Regions from separate parts of the Homo sapiens genome. Here region 1 is linked to region 2. Evidence: promoter capture Hi-C in 16 types of primary human blood cells and fetal thymus (Javierre and others, 2016). All regions are on one chromosome and are shown on one strand. The core of a region is centred on a gene start or on the middle of the fragment in contact, and the rest is flanking DNA. Distances in the headings are between cores, read along the strand shown.

What was found. The method cuts DNA at HindIII sites, captures the fragments that hold promoters and counts their contacts. A CHiCAGO score of 5 or more calls a contact.
Region 1: a fragment that was not itself captured here is called in contact with the fragment with the promoter of C11orf87 in region 2 in 1 of 17 cell types (M1 macrophages); the score reaches 5.6 in M1 macrophages.

The regions. Positions count from the first base shown.
Region 1 is chr11:108,725,487-108,731,737 of GRCh38, forward strand. The region is part of intron 13 of DDX10 (DEAD-box helicase 10); the gene reads left to right. All of the region lies in intron 2 of LOC124902750 (a long non-coding RNA gene), which reads right to left. Among named protein-coding and RNA genes, the nearest start is that of DDX10, 64 kb to the left of the region's middle. The HindIII fragment of the contact is 326 bases long and covers 1,366-1,691 here.
Region 2 is chr11:109,417,535-109,424,518 of GRCh38, forward strand. C11orf87 (chromosome 11 open reading frame 87) reads left to right here and starts at 4,656. Exons shown (of 2, transcript NM_207645.4): 1 at 4,656-4,729; 2 at 5,841-6,984. The coding sequence starts at 6,100. The coding sequence ends at 6,693. The HindIII fragment of the contact is 3,414 bases long and covers 2,409-5,822 here.

The sequences.
Region 1 (6,251 bases), core at 279-2,778, 700 kb before region 2:
GTCTTTTAATTTTAGCCATTCTAGTAGGCATGTAGTGATACCCTACTGCAGTTTTAATTTGCATTTCCCTAATGACTGAACATCTCTACATGTGCTTATTTGCCATTCATATATCTTCTTTGGTGAAATGTCTTCAAGTCTTTTGTCTCTCTTTTGAAATTGTGTTGCCTTAGTAAGTTCTACGAGTTCTTTGTATATTCTGAATACATATCCTTAATCAGATATATTTTGCTAATACTTTCTCCCAATCTATGGCTTGTTTTTATTTTGAGTGTCTGGCAAAGAGCAGGTATCTTAAATTTTGAAGTCTGATTTCAATCACATTTTAGGTAATTTATATATGTGTCGTATCTGATAAATCTGTGATTGACCCAAAGTCACAGATTTTCTCCTATGTTCTCGTCCAGAGGTTTTATAGTTTTAGCACTTACAATTTGGGCTAGGATCCTCTTCACCTTAATTTTTGTATATAATGCTAAGTAAGGGTCAAGGTACACTTTTTTTTGCATATGGGTATCCAGTTGATCCAGTACCATTTGTTTGGAAAAAACTATGCTTTTTCCATTGAATTACCTTGACTCTTTGAAAGTCAGTTGACTTTCAAAGATACGTCTGTCCTTTCACCAATAACACCAATCTTGATTAGTGTAGCTTTATACTAAGTCTTAAATCAGATCTTTGAGTCTGTCAACTGATATATATTTTCTTAAAATTGCTTTGGTTATTTTTGGACCATGGCATTTTCATGTAAGGTTTTGAATCAGCTAGTTACTTCGTATAAAAAGCTTGCCGATGACTTCATTGAGGTTGCATTGAATCTGTAAATCTAACTGGAGAGAATTGACATCATAACAATACCTTTTTATTTAGGCCTTCTTTAGTGTCTTTTTAGCATTGCTTTATAACTTTAAGCACATGTAATGTGCACATATTTTGTTAGAGTCATCTCTTACTATTTGATATTTTTTAATGCTATCATAAATGGTATTTTTAAAATTTCAATTTCCAATTATTTGTTGCCAGTATATAGAAATAGTTTGTTTTTTGTAGACTGATCATTCTAAACTGACCTGTTAGTTCTTGTGGCTTTTTGGGAGTTTCTTGGGATTTTCTTTTGTAACTGATTATGAGGTTTGTGAATGAGGATGGTTTCATTTCTTCCTTTTTCATCTGTGGACCATATATTTCTTTTTTCTTTCTTTTTCTTTTGCTTGATTTTACCGAGTAGGATCTGTGGAATAGAAGTGGTGAGAGTAGATATTGCTGTGTTGTTCCTGATCTTACTGAGGGGGAAGCATTCAGTCTTTTACCATTACATCTGATGTTAGCTGTAAGTTTTTTTTGTAAATGCCTATGAGTTTGAGAAGCTTCCATCTATTCCTAGCTGGCTTAGTGTTTTTATGATAAAATGAATTGTGACTTGTGTCAGATGCTTTTTCTGTAAACATTAAGGTGATGACGTGGTGGTTTTTAGCCTGTTGATTATGGTGTATTGATTTCCCCCTGCTACATGTTGAATCAAATTTAAATTCCTTTGAAAAACTCCATTTAAGCAAGATTTCTTTATATTTATATTATAGGATTCTATTTGCTAATATTTTCGTTAAGGATCTTTCTGTTGTTGTGAGGGATATTGGTTTGCAGTTTTCTTTTTTTGCGATGACTTGACTGGGAATATGACACATTTTGAAAGCTTTTTATATGTTTTGCCAGCATAGAGGTCATGTTGATCGTTGCCCTACTAGCGTCTGTATTGTTTGAATCTCTTTTTGATTCCAATATGAATATTAATAATTTATATCAATATTAACAGTTATTTAGAAAGTTATGATTTCTTTCTTAATTTGTGTATATATTGCTTACACATATTTTTCCCTGTTATGATATTAGTCTCTTTCCTGTTGATTCGTAAGATGTCCTCAAACAGTAAAGTTATTGTCTCTGGCTTTTAACTTTGCTTTGTGTCCCTTGTCACACACAGTTGTTCATTTCCCTGCCTTCTCTACTTTATTCCAAATTCCTTGAAATGTTGTCTTTTGTTTACTCAAGTAAAAATACTCAGAATTTTATTGCCATATGAATAAATTCAGAATTGTATTCTCACTTTAAACAGTAGGGTTCTTGATTTTATTTTCTATTTTAGAAATCAATTAATAGCTAATTTAAAAAAATCCATTACACCCACAATCAAAACAGTAAAAATTCACATTCTGTTTTTTTTAAAATGTTAACTACTAAGGTACAATGTCCTTACCTAACGTCAGTGTCTAAGTTTTCTTGTTTGGACCGTTTTATACTTTCAAGTATAGATTCACATTCACTTAGGAATGACTAAGTCTTTTTAGTCATTCCTAGAAAGGACACATAGAAAATACATGTGAAGAGATCATCAACTATTTCATCCTTCAACTTTAGCGTTCCTATTTGAACAACTACATTTTCATTTTATGCTGTGACAAGGGCATGGTTAAAGATGAGTGAAAACATGATCCTTATGGGTACATTTTAGTAAATGCAAATTTTATTAAGTTGGGGGAAAAAAGTCCTAGAAAAATGAAAAAAGAAAAAAAAAACCCAGAAAGCACACACAGTATACAAGCCCATTTGAAAATTATTTTTAAATTCAACAGACATGAAATTACTTTGGCAAATTGCTGTAAAAATTTAAATGCTCATTCTAAGAAAACAACAACAACAAGCCCTTTTCCTAACTTAGGTTCCTTTCCTCTCAGTCCTGCTCAGACTTAGTGTTTCTCACATCCAGGGCACCAGAGATGATGTTCTTCCAAGGTTGAGTGCTCTGTTCTTGAGGGGCAGGGCGGGGGACTCTGCAAGAGTGGTTTTGAGAAAAATTTCCTGTAAAATACCCTTTTACCCAGATTATAAAATGCTTATTTTTGGTGGAAAATCTCTAGTAAAACACAGAAAATCACAAATAAAAATAAAAATAACCTGTAATTTCACCACCTAGAGATAACAACTGTCTTTGTTTTTTTAAGTATACATACACATTTGTTCTTTTTTTTTTTTTTTTTTTTTTTTTTTAGAAATAGGGTCTCGCTCTGTCACACAGGCTAGAAGGCAGTGGCATGATTGTGGCTCACTGTACCCCCAAACTCCCAGGCCCAAGCGATTCTTCTGCCCTAGCCTCCTGAGTAGCTAGGACTTCAGGTGTATGCTACCATGCCTGGGTAATTTTTAAAAATTTTTTTGTAGAGGTGGGTTCTTTCTGTGTTCCCCAGGATGGTCTCAAACTCTTGGCCTCAAGTGATCCTCTCACCTTGGCCTACCAAAGTGCTGAGCTGACAGGCAGTAAGCCGCTGTGCCCTGCTCATATACCCATTTTTAAATAAGTGAGATGCTCCTAGGTATATATATTTCCCCATGTCATTAAAGTGTCTTCGCAAATATTTTTATGGTTGCCTAATATGCCATTAACCTTTATTTAACCATTCTCCTGCTGTTGGATACTTAGGTTAATATCCTTTTTTTGAATCTCCGTTTAAAGAGTTCTACTAATTGGCAGGTTTCTTCTCTCCTTCACTTTCACTACTCTCACCAGCATAACATGGAACTGATTCTACAGTTCGAAAATGCAAGATAGGAATCTTCTCCTTATCTCATGTAAACACTTACTTTATAGTAATTGTTTCAAAAATTTTACCCCCAAATGATTACCGAGCTTACACATATTAGGGCATAAGATGACCTAGGTCTCTTTGGGTTATCGACAGGGTTCTAAGAGGGCCCCAGTGACACTACGTAATACCTCCTTATGCCGCTCTTATTGAAGGAGGGTCACAAATTCCTCCAGACCATATTCAGATCTGCTCATCTCCATCCAGAGAGGTTTTAGCACATCACAGCTTGCTCCTGGCCTGATAAACTATCAGTCCCTGAGGAGTGATTGAATAACCCACATTTCAGTAACTACCATAAAATATGATTCTGCATCCACTCAGTGGCATCGTCTCACAAGTGCCTTTGATGCAGGGAGCAGCCTCTGCTTGTGACAGTGCAGCTCGACTGAGCAAATATCCTTTTCTCAGAGTGAAAAAAACAAAACAAGGAAGAACAAAAGAAATTGTTGCAGGCCTTTTTTTTTTTCCTCCATTAAACATATGATGCCTGACTGGATTTTCTACTTTGTACTTAATAACTCACTTGTTAATACTATACATCAGGCCAGGCATAGTGGCCCACACCTGTAATCCCTCTGAGGTGGGAGGACCACTTGAGCCCAGAAGTCCAGGGCTACAGCAAGCCACGACACTCCAGCCTGAGCAACAGAGAGAGACCCTGTCTCTAAAACAAACAACACAATGCACGTCGTTAATGTACACCAGAGAGGAGATTTGGTCTGCAAATTCTTTAATGATATCTCTTGTGACCATTAGAATACCTTCCCAACTACTAGTAAGCTGATGAATCATTTTGAACATCTGGAAACATTCTTCTAAAGTTTGTTTTTTTCCCTTGTCAATCACAGTTTTGTCTGATCGTGGATTCTGGATCCATTAGTTCTAATGGATCAATTCAAGTGGGCATGAAGTTCCACTTTGGCAATTCAGAGTAAAAGCTTACCTTCCATGGCTGATGCTCTTCTGCCTCCATTATAATTTTACCAGGAAAACAATAGTCCCTCTCCACTCTTATTCTTGGTATGAACAATAGGATGTATTTCAGTCAGTAAATTCTGTGGTTCTGAATTTCCTTCAGATTGCTTTACTTCTAAACATTTCGAAAAGATTAGCTGTATGTGTAGCTCTGGGTTCAGCTTCACCTCTTAGAGATTTCTCAACCACTAGGACCTAGACAGGTTTTCCCTTATGACTGAAAGTCTCGTAGAAAAGTGACAACTCGGGCTCCCCTAACACACATCTCAGTGGTAGGGAGCTGTCTTCCTGGGAAAACATAATCCAGGGCTATCAAACAAAAGGAAAATATTGTCTTACTGATCAGTGTGTTTTCAGGGCCTGGTACAATGACTAGTGCAAATTTCACAAATATTTTGTGAATGAGGGAGTGAATTAACTGAATTTCTTATTCCTTCACTTTGGTTTTGTTTGCTGTGAGTTATATAGAACTCATAGGTAGGGTTTATTTTTGGAAAACCTGTATTTTGTGAAGTTCACCTCATGACTTACAGTGGTTCAAAAGGTATTGTTGAACTTCCTATAAATGTGAGCATAAAAAACTTACTTGACTCTAAATGATATACTTATGTAGGCCGAGCTTTATAATTTAATTTGGATAGTAAGTGGTAGTATCTAATTATAGTGTTGTAAAATTCGGTTTACTAAGACTACATTTGCATTATACTATAAGAAGTTCTATCTTTAAAGTACACACGTACCTGCATGTTTTTTTTTTTTTACTGTAATAAATTTAAAGTATTATGTCATGTCTGTTGAATATGAGGAACATTTTGGGGCAGTTGATAGGATTTTTGATGCTAAACAAGGAATGTTTTGCTGTTTCTTCCTGTACATTCCCTAGTACTGTGCACAAACAGTAGAGTTGAATTTCGTGGTTCTCCAGTTGAAATAGAAAGGCTAATTGCCGTTTCTTTTTTTTTTTTTTGAGACGGAGTCTCGCTGTGTCACCCAGGCTGGAGTGCAGTGGCCGATCTTGGCTCACTGAAACCTCTGCCTCCCAGGCTCAAGTGATTATCCTGCCTCAGCCTCCCGAGTAGCTGAGATTACAGGCACGTGCCACCACACCCAGCTAATTTTTGTATTTTTAGTAGAGACGGGGTTTCACCATGTTGGCCAGGCTGGTCTCAAACTCCTGACCTCAGGTCATCCACCTGCCTCAGCCTCTCAAAGTGCTAGGATTACAGGTGTCAGCCACCATGCCCAGCCCTTTTTTGAACTACCTCACCTAGTCTTAACTTCACCTGTTACCTACTTTCGAATTTTAAAAATTAATACTTATTTTCACTCGTGTTAATATCTTTTGATTCTTCTCCATGTTTTTAAGCAATTGGTTTTGAATGTGACCCTGCAACCGTGATCTCAATTGGGTTTCTTTTTTTTTTTTTTGAGACAGAGTCTCTCTCTGTCACCCAGATTGGAGTGCAATGGTGTCATCATGGCTCGCTGCAGCCTCGACCTTATGGGCTGAAGTGATCTTGAATTGCTGGACTCAAACCATCCTCCTGCCTCAGCCTCCCAAAGTTCTGGGATTATAGGTATAAATCACTGCACCCATCCTGGCTTTCCATTTTATCCTTTACTTTTGCATTTCAT
Region 2 (6,984 bases), core at 3,406-5,905:
GCTCTAATTCTAAGATAAATTGATACATAGATAGTTTGTCCCCCAGATGACAGCTGTCACCTCTCTCAGGAGTTACACATCCTCAAGGTATTGTTTTTCGTAGTTTCACAAAGGTTTTCACACCCTGAGTAAACGCACTATAGTTAGGTTGAGAACTGGTGAAACATACGTTTTTCTTTTGTGAAATAGGACAATTGCAAGGAGAGGTGACAAAAGATAAATTTTAATCCAGATAGATACATTTTGGGGAGAAGTACATATAGAGGTAGAGGACTTGGAAAATAATTCCCTTAAAACTATACATATATTCCCCTGGAAAATGTCTAATGTATTCTCAGGGATTGACTCCTCCAGTTTGAAGACTGCTGAGGTATATGATAACCAGCTACATGGTTAGAAAGATCTTTCCGCTACTGAAATAATGAATTGAAAGAGGCTCCCCATCCTACATCTGTTTCACTACATTTCTGTTCTCTCTTGAGTATGTAGGTTAGGATAAATCTATTTTCTATTGACGATACTCCGAATATTTTAAGAGGCTATGCTACATTCCCCACATCTTTCCATCTCTAAGATTAGTATTCCCTTCTCCTTGAATTGCTTATCTATCATTGTTTTCAGTCCCTTCATCTTTCTAGTCATCTTCCTGTAAAGGACACTAATACTTATCAAATTTTTTTCTGAATTTTGATGTCCAAAACAATATAATGCTTCTATTGCCAGGGATAAAATGTCAATCTTAGTAATTTTCTTTATAATGTAATGGGCTACTATTTATTGAATGCTTGCTATATGCTCAGTGCTTAAAATAGCACTGCAAAAAATGATTCTATTATTCCCATTTTGCAGATGAGAAGACTGAACTAGAATAAAACTAGATAACTAGAACAAAGTCAAGAACTTCACTCGACCTTTATTATTTATTTACTGGGTGGGGCAGTAGTTAATAGTAACATGACAACATATAAGCATACCTCTGTAGGTATGCAGGGGCCCAGACTGGAGGAGATATAAGATTAGGCAAAATGTCAAAATCAGCTAAACATTCTCTGGAAAAGTCCCTGTAAATCTAAGAGGAGCCTGGCATATATCATGCTGCACTGTGATTTAGAATGACCTGCCTTAGTCAAACTAGACTTTGTTCAGTCCAAGGGAATCTGTGGAGATCCTGTAGACTGCTCCTGGTTGGAAGGAAGGACCTGAACCATGGGGATTTCCCATCTTCCCTCCTACACTTCAACCAAGCATCTCTGCTTTTCTCTAGCTTTACATAATTACCCCAATCAGAAGTAGACAGAGGTAAAATAAAAATAAAAATAAGTAAGTGTGTTTGAAAGAGAGAAACAGAAAGGGAAAGAGAGAAAAGCCATTAGTCATGAAAAGTAGTCATAAAAAGAATTCTGACTTTGGAATCAGTTTACCTGTGTTTCAGCCCAATAATATATGTGGTAATATACTTCTCAGTGGGTTACTTAGACATTGTCTTTAAACACTCTGAGCTTTAGTTTTTTCACATTTCTTATAGCAGGTACTCAGATTTTTGTTGAACAAATGAGTAAATGAATAATTTTGTATTTTGGCAAAAATAACCTTACGAGGTTGTAGAGAGGATTAATGCTAATATAGGGTTTACTATAGCCTGGTACATAGTAGGTGTTTTGCAAATAAGGATAATAGCTATTATTATTATTGATTCAATGCTGCTTAGATTTAGGTACAGGTGCCCATGTGGCACTTTTATCTAAGTTAGATCGAGATTCTTCATTAAACTTGAAAGCAAATATTAAATGCTCTTAAATATTTGGAACATGCTTATGTCCAGAGGGGCTTTCCCATTACAAGGGAAGATTATAGGAATCTCAGGAGCTTCTTGGTTCTCTACTCTTGGGAGTGTGGCTTGTGAAGTTTGGTGGCGAAAATAGTGGCAACAATGGTGTTGTCTGGAAGAAGCCTTGCCATTCAGCCAGATGTGCCAAAAATCATGTGGCAACTCAGTGGGATCAATTCCTGCAGTCCAAGAGGTGCCCATATTTGCTGTCATTGCTCTTCCTTGGGTTTAAAACACACTACCCAATGACATCCAAATCTACGTATTTAGTACATTTGTCCTCTGGGTAAGAATAAATTATGAACCTACTGCCTATTCTTGAAAGAGAAAAGACAAAAAAGGGTACTATGCTTTTGATCTGAAAACTAATGTCTTTAATCTACCTAAATCATTGCTAGTTAAATACCATTTTCTGGTGAATCACATTTATCTGCTGTAGAGTATAAGTTCTCCAGATTAAGATCTTGTCTTTTCATAGGGTGTATAAAATAATGCACACAGCTTTAGCACTCCTGGTATAACAGATGGCTATCATTTGTAACAAAAGAATAACATTGGAAGCCTTCTGACATGTCCTAGAAGCTTGGTGTGCAAGAAGAATCCCATTACATACATATTGTAATCCCATTACAACATGTTGTAAAGGTATATTCCCCATAGGGAAAGCCCAATAACTAATTCCTTCAAATCTAGAAAACAGACGACTGAGAGTTAATTTTTTTTTTTTTTTGAGATGGAGCTTCACTCTTGTTGCCCAGGCTGGAGTGCAATGGCACAATCTTGGCACACTGCAACCTCTGTCCCCCAGATTCAAGCCATTCTCCTGTCTCAGCCTCCCGAGTAGCTGGAATTACAGGTGCCTGTCACCATGCCCGGCTTTTATTTATTTATTTATTTATTTATTTATTTATTTATTTATTTATTTTGTTATTTTTAGTAGAGACAGGGTTTCACCATGTTGGCCAGGCTGACCTCTAACTCCTGACCTCAGGTGATCCACCTGCCTCAGCCTCCCAAAGTGCTGACATTACAGGCATGAGCCACCGTGCCTGGCCAAGAGTTAATTCTAATTGCATAAAAATTCTTTGCTTTACAAAATAACATTTTTTAAAAAATTTTTTATTTTTTGCTAAAGAGTCTCTTGAAATAGCCAGATCTCTTTTTGGAGAATCCAAAATTGGATTTGCTTTACAAAATGTTTATTAGACTCAACTTTTCAGGAGCAAAGCGAGTGTGAAAAAATGGGACATTGCCTGTCAGGCATCAATGGTAAAGTGTCACTTAGTCACAGCGTAAAAAATAAATAAATAAATAAAAAGGCTCACCATTCCATCCCCTAAGCCCACCAAAGTCAAATTGTCCAAATGTGGCAGGTGGCTATTGCAGGCATCTGGTGCTCTCATTCCAGTCAGGAAGGTGAGGCTAGCATTGGGGTGGGGGCGGGGGGCAGACATCAGTAACTGTATGACCCTAAACACAGAGTCCGAAGAAGGGACCCCCAGATTACAGACAGCCTTTCCTCCACATATCAGACCCTCTTTCTTTACAAATACAGCAAATACAAGCAGATAACTGGGCATCAGTCATTTCTGATGCATTGCAGGAAAGAGCAACAACATACACTGTATCATTCAATTTATCAAGTAAACTACAGGCACTGTGCTAGACTCAAAGATAGAAAAGAAGACAGGGAGCAAAGAAGAAAACGCACGTTTAGTAAGACACCTGAGTGCCTTCAAAGACCATGCAATGTCTTTAGGTACTGTTCCCAGCTAGCTTCTCCAACAGAAAAATGAGCATACTCCATTTCAAAGCTGGATTCTGTAACCAAATGCACTATTCATATTTTTCCAAGGCTCCTAAACCAATAGTTAACTAGTCTCTTCCAAGATTTAGGGAGGCTGTTGAATTCTTTTCTGGAAGTTCTATGTATTTTGCTAAAAGTTGTGCTCCAAACACTTTACCAAGAATTAGGGTCAATGAAGGGGTACTTTGTGCAAGCTACAAATACTTGGAATTTTCATAAGGCAGTTCATTTCTGCCTTCCTGTGAATAATTTCATATTTCTTCCTTGTAAGACTAGGGTTTGTGTGCTCATGAGTGTCTAGATTGTCAGAATAGAAGGAGTGTTTAATACATTGAGTGGGTCTGGGGCCTGGAGATGAAGATGTGAGGGATGCAAGAAGGAGGATCTTGAATCAGATGGAGCGAAAGATAACTTGGAAACTCCAGTGGAGAAAAATGGCTAATTTGGATTGTTTAATTTGTTCAGGTTTGTGTTTTGGGTTCTGTCACACTTATGTTGAGAAACGTCCCTGCCATCTCTCTAATGCACGCAGTTTATGTTCAGAAACGGGCAGCACAGAGAGGAATTAGCGGTGGGGGAAATTTTCATCACCACCGGTGATGTGTGCACCGATGGTAGATGGCTATCCAGAGTGTAAAAATGTGATTCTGGGACCAAAGGGTCAGCTCTAGAACGAAATCAGACAGCTGGAGAACTGAAGATTCAACTCTTCCTAGGCAAGAGAGTGAGAAAGGTGGGTTGCTTGCAGGGTGGAGGTAGGGGTTGCTCCTCCTAGTTCCTGGGCTGGAGAAGGGCAGGGAACTGGGAAGTGTGTGTCAGAGGCTCGCTATGCTAGGACAAGGTGTTGGGGTACTAGGGTGGGTGGGGGCCTGAGGGGTGGCTTGGAGCCCTGGCGGTGGCTGCCTGACGTCACCGGCCTCTCTGGCAATAGGCTGCGAGCTCAGCTCCCTGAAGCGGCGGCGAAGGCGGCGGCGGCGGCGGCGGCGGCGGCAGCAGCGCGGCTCGGTCTCTGGTCCATTCACTCCACGCTTTCTGCAGCCGCCACTGCAGCCGCGCGGCGGGGGCTCCCTCCTTGCAGCCAGCCGGCGGTCCAGGTAAGAGACAAGGTGTGAGTAAAGGCTTCTGATGGCCGGGTGGCCTGACGGCCAGGTGCGAGTGGGGAGGACAGCTCACGCGGCCTGAGCAGCCACCCCTGGCCATAGCTCCAGCCCCCGCCCCTGCCCCCGGCCCCTGCCCTGGCTTGCTTGCGCGCTACCTCGCTACTCCGCAGTGCAACAGTTTGCAGCTGCCTCTTGGGAGCAGCAAGGAGGCTCTCCTGTGCGCTGCGGGTCTACCGGCTCCAGTATGCCGGAAAAGCCTCGGGGCCTTTGGGCTGGGTCTGGGAAGGACAGAAAGAAGGTCCCGTTCCCCAAACTTTGCAGGCGGGAACCCTCCCCTTTCCATTCCAGCTCCTCTAGAAAGAAGCAGGCTACTGCCAAGTTGGGGGCACAGGGAAATGGGGAGGAGGGGGCCGTTTGTGGGAATGTGTCAGCTGAGAAAGATGCTTCAGCTGCTTTTTTTTTTTTTTTTTTTTTTTTTTGGAGAGGGGAGAATACCAGGGAAGAAGGCTGGAGAAGAGATGGAGCGCGTTCCTGCGCGTCAGCCGCGGTCGCGGACAGAGGCAGAGTGGGATGTGGTGCCAGGGGTATCCCCCTGGGAATGGGACCCAAGGGATCTGACGCTGTCCAGGGAGGGCGAGTCTGGACGGGGAGGGAAAGGAAGGGAGGACTGCGTACCCGGAGCCCGCGCGGCGGCCCGGAGTGGGTGCTGGGAAGGGTAGGATCCAGGCGAAGACATCAACCGAGAGGGCGCAGAAAAGAGGAGAGCCGGCGCTCTGGGAAGTAGGGACTTCAACCAAAGCGGCTGCGTGTCTGTTGCAATTATAAAGTTGTGAAGGGCGGAAGGGAGGCTGCCTTATCTGCTGAGTAATCTGCACCTCCGCGGTGCCGGCGCAGACCCCATCCTGTCGAGTGGCATGAGCAGGCTGCTGGTGGCTCTGGTGCACGGCCACGGGCCGGCAGGCTGGGGTCCGCTGACCGAAAATACAGGCAGCGCCCAGCTCAGGCAGTGTGCCCAGAGGGCCGCTTTGCGGTGGTGGTTGATCTTTCCCGACAGCACTCCCCTGGGCAGCGGCCGAGATTCTAACTAAGCTTTGTGTCTTTGCAGCCTGGTGCCTCTGCAAAGGAAAGGGGAGCGTGGAGACGTGTTCGAGGTGGTATCGGCGAGGATCTCTCGGGCGCCGCTCACTCCTTGGTCGCCTTGCTTGCCAGCAGTTGCTCCCTTAGTCCTTGGCTCGCTCGCACACCCCCTCCCGCTACAGGGAGCAGTTTTGGGTGGCGTGGGCTCCGTCCTCTTCTTGGCTGGTAGGAACGGTGTGCCCAAGAGGGGAAGCCTAGTGGGCCTGGCCCCTCCCAGCCCCGCGCCAATGAGTGCCAGGGCGCCGAAGGAGCTGAGGCTGGCGTTGCCGCCGTGTCTCCTCAACCGGACCTTTGCTTCCCCCAACGCCAGCGGCAGCGGCAACACGGGTGCCCGCGGCCCAGGCGCAGTAGGCAGCGGCACCTGCATCACGCAGGTGGGACAGCAGCTCTTCCAGTCCTTCTCCTCCACGCTGGTGCTGATTGTCCTGGTTACCCTCATCTTCTGCCTCATCGTGCTGTCCCTCTCCACTTTCCACATCCACAAGCGTAGGATGAAGAAGCGGAAGATGCAGAGGGCTCAGGAGGAATATGAGCGGGATCACTGCAGCGGCAGCCGCGGTGGCGGGGGGCTGCCCCGACCTGGCAGGCAGGCCCCAACCCACGCAAAGGAAACCCGGCTGGAGAGGCAGCCCCGGGACTCTCCCTTCTGCGCCCCTTCCAACGCCTCGTCGTTGTCCTCTTCGTCCCCTGGCCTCCCGTGCCAGGGTCCCTGTGCTCCTCCGCCTCCACCGCCAGCCTCCAGTCCCCAAGGAGCACACGCAGCTTCCTCCTGTTTGGACACAGCTGGCGAGGGCCTTTTGCAAACGGTGGTACTGTCCTGATCGTCTAGCCCCTCTCGTTCCCCGTCCTCGTTTCCAGCATCTTTGCCACCCTTGCTTTTTTCCTTCTTCCTTCCTTTTCCATTTTCCTCTGGCCCCTCTTTCCTCTTCCTGGTTTCCTTACCTGCCCTCCCCTTACTCTTGTTTCTCCTCCGCCGAGGCACTGTGCGGTATTTGTAAATATTGGGCGAGGAAAGTCTCGGAAGAAGAAATAACGCTGATAATAATACTTTATTAATATTTATAGTAATTATTATAATACTAATAACACAATCCAAGCGCATGACAAATCAC